Regions from separate parts of the Homo sapiens genome. Here region 1 is linked to region 2. The links are contacts of gene promoters, found by promoter capture Hi-C in blood cells and fetal thymus (Javierre and others, 2016). All regions are on one chromosome and are shown on one strand. The core of a region is centred on a gene start or on the middle of the fragment in contact, and the rest is flanking DNA. Distances in the headings are between cores, read along the strand shown. Region 1 holds the start of ARMC5 (armadillo repeat containing 5). Region 2 holds the start of BCL7C (BAF chromatin remodeling complex subunit BCL7C).

The links. The method cuts DNA at HindIII sites, captures the fragments that hold promoters and counts their contacts. A CHiCAGO score of 5 or more calls a contact.
Region 1: a fragment that was not itself captured here is called in contact with the fragment with the promoter of BCL7C in region 2 in 5 of 17 cell types (naive CD4 T cells, fetal thymus, non-activated CD4 T cells and 2 more); the score reaches 8.2 in naive CD4 T cells.

Annotation. Positions count from the first base shown.
Region 1 is chr16:31,458,363-31,461,062 of GRCh38, reverse strand. It overlaps ARMC5 (armadillo repeat containing 5), which reads right to left and starts at 1,562. Exons shown (of 6, transcript NM_001105247.2): 1 at 1,064-1,562. The coding sequence starts at 1,538. RefSeq lists a silencer at 1,014-1,363 and enhancers at 1,554-1,893, 1,892-2,432. The HindIII fragment of the contact is 2,362 bases long and covers 225-2,586 here.
Region 2 is chr16:30,892,724-30,895,522 of GRCh38, reverse strand. BCL7C (BAF chromatin remodeling complex subunit BCL7C) reads left to right here and starts at 1,446. Exons shown (of 6, transcript NM_004765.4): 1 at 1,446-1,670; 2 at 2,233-2,311; 3 at 2,575-2,683; 4 at 2,776-2,799. The coding sequence starts at 1,579. It overlaps MIR762HG (MIR762 host gene), which reads right to left. Exons shown (of 3, transcript NR_110942.1): 3 at 303-975. It overlaps MIR762 (microRNA 762), which reads right to left and starts at 1,620; the gene lies at 1,538-1,620. RefSeq lists enhancers at 1-245, 1,989-2,318, 1,857-2,489 and a silencer at 1,129-1,608. The HindIII fragment of the contact is 7,734 bases long and covers 1-1,912 here.

The DNA.
Region 1 (2,700 bases), core at 156-2,655, 570 kb before region 2:
GTAGCTGAATGATGGGGGTTATTTAATAACCAAAGCTCTTGTCAAACATATATGGTCCAGATACATTTTATGTAAATTTTAAATATATTAATGCTTCCCTTTATCCGAAAAGTTAAGATGTCATCAAAACTAGCATAATTTCGTGGAAGGCAGGTAGTGACATGTAAACTGCTTTCACACATTGCCACTAGGAGGCACCAATTTAGCTGGTAAACAGAAAAGCTTATGTTTTGCTAGGATTTGTTCTTACTGTGCTGGTTTTAATTATTTTTATTTATTTTTTCCTGCTTCCTAAGCGACTACTGATTTGTTTGGTTTTCTAAGATACGAGGTCTTGTTACGTTGCCCAGGCTGGAATGCAGTGGCTATTCACAGGCAGTCATTGTTCACTGCAGCCTCAACCTCCTAGGCTCAAGGGATCCTCCCGCCTCAGCCTCCCAAATAGCTGGAACTACAGGCGCGTACCACTGCACCCAGCTTATGCTAGTTTTTAATAACTTGAAATACGTATCATGCTTAGAATATTTGCATATTCGTGCCATATTTGTACTTCGTTTTCTCCCCACTCTGATTTTTTTAGGTAGCTATTATTGCCCCATTTTACAAGGAATCCTAGCCTCGGAGGGGTTAGGTGACTTTTGCAGATCTCCCTTTCTGAACCACTACACCTTCCAGCTCATCAGTGGGGCTTCAGAACCTTGCACAGGGCCGGACACATAGTTGGGCACTGAATGTCTGCTATGAACATCATAACTGGACGGTAAGAATCATCTGAAAAAATCACCAAATAACTCTTTGGCCTCCGCTAGTCCAGCTTCGAAAGAAGTCCTCAACAACCAATTCCTAGATAATGGCTACAATTATCTGGTCTGGGAGGGCTCTCTCTCATCTATAGAGAGTGCAGTGACGTCACGGGGCACAACAGATTGAGAAACAGGAGCGATGCGCCATCACAAAGCACGTTATTCCGGGATAGGACACAAAGAACTCCAGACTGCCCGGGTCTAGAGAGCAAGGGAGTTGCAAACCTAATCTTTCTAGGAAACGGGGGCGGAGCACTTACCCAAAGGGAGTATGCCTCCGAGTCTGCGCACTTCGGTCCGGCACGCCCCTTCCGTACAGCAATCGGCTAGGATGCTGAGCGCCAAGTCCAGCGTCTTGCGCAGGCGCACTGGCGGCGTAGGACTAGACGACGACACAGCGGAGGGGGCGGGGCCCGACGCGGGGGCGGGGCTAGAAGCTCCCGACGCGGCCGACGAGGGGGCGGAGCCGGGGCCTGCCTGGGACGGGGCGGAACCCGCTGCAGCCGCTCGCCGTAGCAGCGCGAGTAGGGGGCGGAGCCCGCCGCGTGCCCGGAAGCGCTCGATTCCCCCCGCTGCCTTGATGTGGCGCGTGCGGAGGGCTAGGAGCGCGCGGCTCAGGGGTGTCTCGTTGGTCGCTGGGTCCTTTTCCCCACCCAGAGCCTCCCCGGCCGCCGCCGCGAGCTGCGCGAGGCAGAACGAGAGCGAGTCCGTGAGGGTTGGCTTCGCAGCCGCCATCTTGGCTCGGGCCTCAGACTCCGCCCCGCTTCTCGCCGCTGATCCCAGGGAGCGGAACTGGAAGACAGGGAAATCGTCGGGCACCGCCTCGCTGACGCTGTTTAGCGCCACCGCAGTGATGCAAGTCGGAAGTTGTAGTTCTCGACCCCGGAAGTCTGTCCTTGCACACGAGGCGCGGCAGTACCTTAATCGCAGCGCATCCTGGGACGTGCGGGCGGTGCATGAGGGAGATGTGGTCCGCGTCGAGCTTCTCACGCCTACCTCGGGAAGCGCTGGAAACTCTTCCAGGGCCCTCCAGGTGGGCCAGGGCCTCCGAACAGCCCAGAAGTCCGACCACGGAGCCTTCGTGCCGTGCCCCGCCCCCGGCGTGCACTCGGCGGGGACCGCCTTTTCTCCTCTAGGCTCGCTTCGCTGCCCCCCAGCGGTGGTGCGGCCCGGCCTTGGGACGGACTCCGAGAACCCCGAGCCGGGCCGAAAGTGCGGGGTCCTGACCGCGCCGCAGACGGGGAGCCCTCGCTCGGTCAGAGGAAGAAGAGGGTTAAACCTACCGAGAACGTTCGCTGCCGCTTCCTAGAGTGACGGGCTTGTGGAATTTTCCGTTTCCGGAGCTGGACCCCGGTGTCCCGAGTGTCCTCCGCTCTGGACGTGCTCGTGAGCTCAGGAGCTGGCATCTAGGAAACGGGGAGTTCTTCACTCGCAGCGCAGTCGGCCGCGCCAGAAGAGGCGAGGGAGAATCCGGACGGGGCGGGGCGGCGGGGGAGCGGGACATTCGCGTCCCGGGGAGCCCCCAGGTCACCCCTGGATTGCGAGGTGGCTCCGCCTGAGCAGCCCTTCCTGGTGTGGTCGGGGCAGCTGCCCGCCCGGAAAATGGTCAGGCTCTAGCCCTGGGGAGGAAGAAGCCTTTGCCAAGAGCAACCGTCTACAAGCCCCAAAACCTGCGAGTGCCGGAAATGTGGACTGACCACAGCCTGCCTCCCCGGCTTCATTCACCACCAAGGCAGCCCCTCTGGTGACAAGCCTTACCGTTGTCCGGGTTATGGCAGAAGCTTCCGATGTGGCTCTGATCTGGTTAAGCACCACTGGGTACACACCGGTGAAAAGCCGTACTCCTGCCCCGAGTGTGACCATCGCTTCGGCCCTATGCCTGTGCCTAGTGTGGTAA
Region 2 (2,799 bases), core at 197-2,696:
ATGCACATTAACTAACTCCTGTGTTATAGATGCGGAATAGAGAGAAGTGACTTGTCCAGGGTAACACAGTTAGGTGTGGCACAACTGGGATTTTACCTAAGCAGCTTGGCTCAAAAAAATGCTGTCTTAACCATGCTCCTAACCCCTTATACCCTTAACCTCTGGACATGGTCACGCCCAAATTCACAGACACAACAGCCACACCTTGAAACACACACACACACACAACAGCAGCACAAATTTTGACATGGTCTTATCTGCTGACAAGCCAGCCTCAAATAAAGTCAACAAAGACACACTCATTTTATTTAAGTAATGTACATTTTATTTAAGTCATGTGATGGATTTTCACAGAATACATATGCCCAGGGAACCAGCACCAGATTACACAACAGAACTGGATCAGCTCCCAGAAGCTCTCCCCTCGTCCCCTCCCAACCCTAAGGGCGATCACTATCTTGACTTTGGTGCACTATAAATTAGTTTTGTCTGGTTCTGAACGTAATACACCTGGAACCATCTAGTATGTACTGTTGCATTTGGCTTCTGTCACTCAAGATTTCATCATGCGACTTGTCTATGTTGCTGTGTGTAGCCGGGCATGTCAATCCCGTTGCTGTGTCTATGTGCATGGTAGTGAGTAGGGCATCATTCATTTTCCATTCTGTTGATGGGTTATTTCCAGTTTGGGGCTGTTATGAAAGGGCTCTGAACATTCCCATGCACCCTCTTGATGCTCACACCTACACATTTCTGCTGGGTGTTGACAGCCTAGGAGTGGAACTGCTGGATCACAGAGGTGGCATATGTTCGGCTTCATTAGAAAACTGCCAGTTTTCCAAAATGTCTCTACCAATTTACACTCCCCCAGAAATACAAGAGAGGTCCAGTCGCTCTACTTTCTCGCCTCCACACGGTGCGGTCTTTTTCACTTTAGCCATTCTGGTGGTGGAGACCCACTCGTATTCGCAGCGCCTGGAGCGTAATTGGCACTCAGTTAACAAGACTGTTGAATGAATGGATGACTGAGTAAGTTGGGCGGTGTAGACCAACAGCCTGGCGAGGGCGGACACACGCACGCACTCCACACACAGCGTTTCGCGGACACCCACCGCGGCTCACGCAGCGCAGGACACAGACCCTGTCGCGCACCCCGCGCCCACGTGGTCTGAACACACGGCCTCGGCCCTGCCTCGCGCGTCCGGTCGCAACTCCCGCTCTCCGTCCCCAACTCGCGCGTCCGTCCCCAACTCCCGCTCTCGGCGGCGGGCAGGGGGCGCTGAGCGTCCAGGCGCTCCAAGGGGGCGGGCCCGGGTCGGGGCGGGGCCGGCCGGGCTTCCAGGCCTGGGCTCTGGCCGCCCGCGCCACCGGGCCGCTCCGGGGACAGGCCGGGGCGGGGCGCGGCGGCAGGAAACGGGGCGGGGACTTGCGGAGGCGTTGGGGACGAGAGAGGGCGCGGCCAACTCCAGGGGGGACGGCAGGCCGAGAGCGCGGCGCCCGGGCCTGGCGCGGAGCCTGAGCCCGCCGGACGGGAGGCGGCCCCGCCGCGGGCTCGGCCCCGGCCCCAGCCCCGCCAGCATGGCCGGCCGGACTGTACGGGCCGAGACCCGGAGCCGGGCCAAGGATGACATCAAGAAGGTGATGGCGACCATCGAGAAGGTCCGGAGATGGTGAGCGCTGCTCGGGGGCCAGGGACGGGACACAGCGGGACCACCAGCACCAAAGGCGTCTACGCTGCCCTCGCCAGCTCTGGGCCCCGGGTGTTCGGTGTATCTCCACCCACTAGCTTTGCCCTGGATCCACAGGGCTCTGTCCCCGTTCGCCTGGCTACTCCTGGGGGTCTACAAAGCGTGATCCCCAGCCGTGTCCTCCCAGAGCGGGAGCCCCCTCTTGTGCCCCGCCCCCTAAAGCTTTGACACCCCTCCTGCAGGTGCGCCCCAGGATCTGCAGGGCTCTGATCCCGGGCCAGGCCCATAGCCACGCCCCCCATGTGTGCCCCAGGGGTCCGCAGAGCCAGGGCCCCAAATCATATCCTCTCTCTAGAGGCACCCACCGCCTATGCCCTGGGGTTTGCAGGACTCTCTTCCTCCATGTAACTATGCCCCATTAGCAAAACTGTTGCTATCCTCCTGTGCCTCCTCAACCTCTGCAGGTACCCCCAGATGTGTCCAGCTCCTAGGGGGGTGGGTCTCCCCTCAGGCCTCTCTGACCCAGCCCCCCACCCTCCCACAGGGAGAAGCGATGGGTGACTGTGGGCGACACTTCCCTTCGTATCTTCAAGTGGGTGCCAGTGGTGGATCCCCAGGAGGAGGTGAGCAACCCCCATTCCCACAAGGCCCTGCATCTGTGCAACCTCAGGCAAGTTCCTCCCCACGCTGACCTCTACCTCCAGCTCCCCGAGACCTCAGATGCAGCAGGACAGACGGGAACCATCATTAGCAGCTCCTCCCCTTTTGCCCTCTTTTCTGCTCCACACCCCCTGAGTTTGAGCCCTTTTGCTTCTCAGTGCCTCAGTTTCCTTAGGTGTATGGTGGGGCTTTCCAAGAGCTCTGACCCTAATCCTCTAACCCCCAGGAGCGAAGGCGGGCAGGTGGCGGGGCAGAGAGATCCCGTGGCCGGGAACGTCGGGGCAGGGGCGCCAGTCCCCGAGGGGGTGGCCCTCTCATCCTGCTGGATCTTAATGGTAGGTAGGGATCCTGAAACGCGGGGGGCTGTGGGGACTGAAGGAGTGTACTAGGGATCTCAGGCCAACCATCTCGGCTCTTGCTCCCGCAGATGAGAACAGCAACCAGAGTTTCC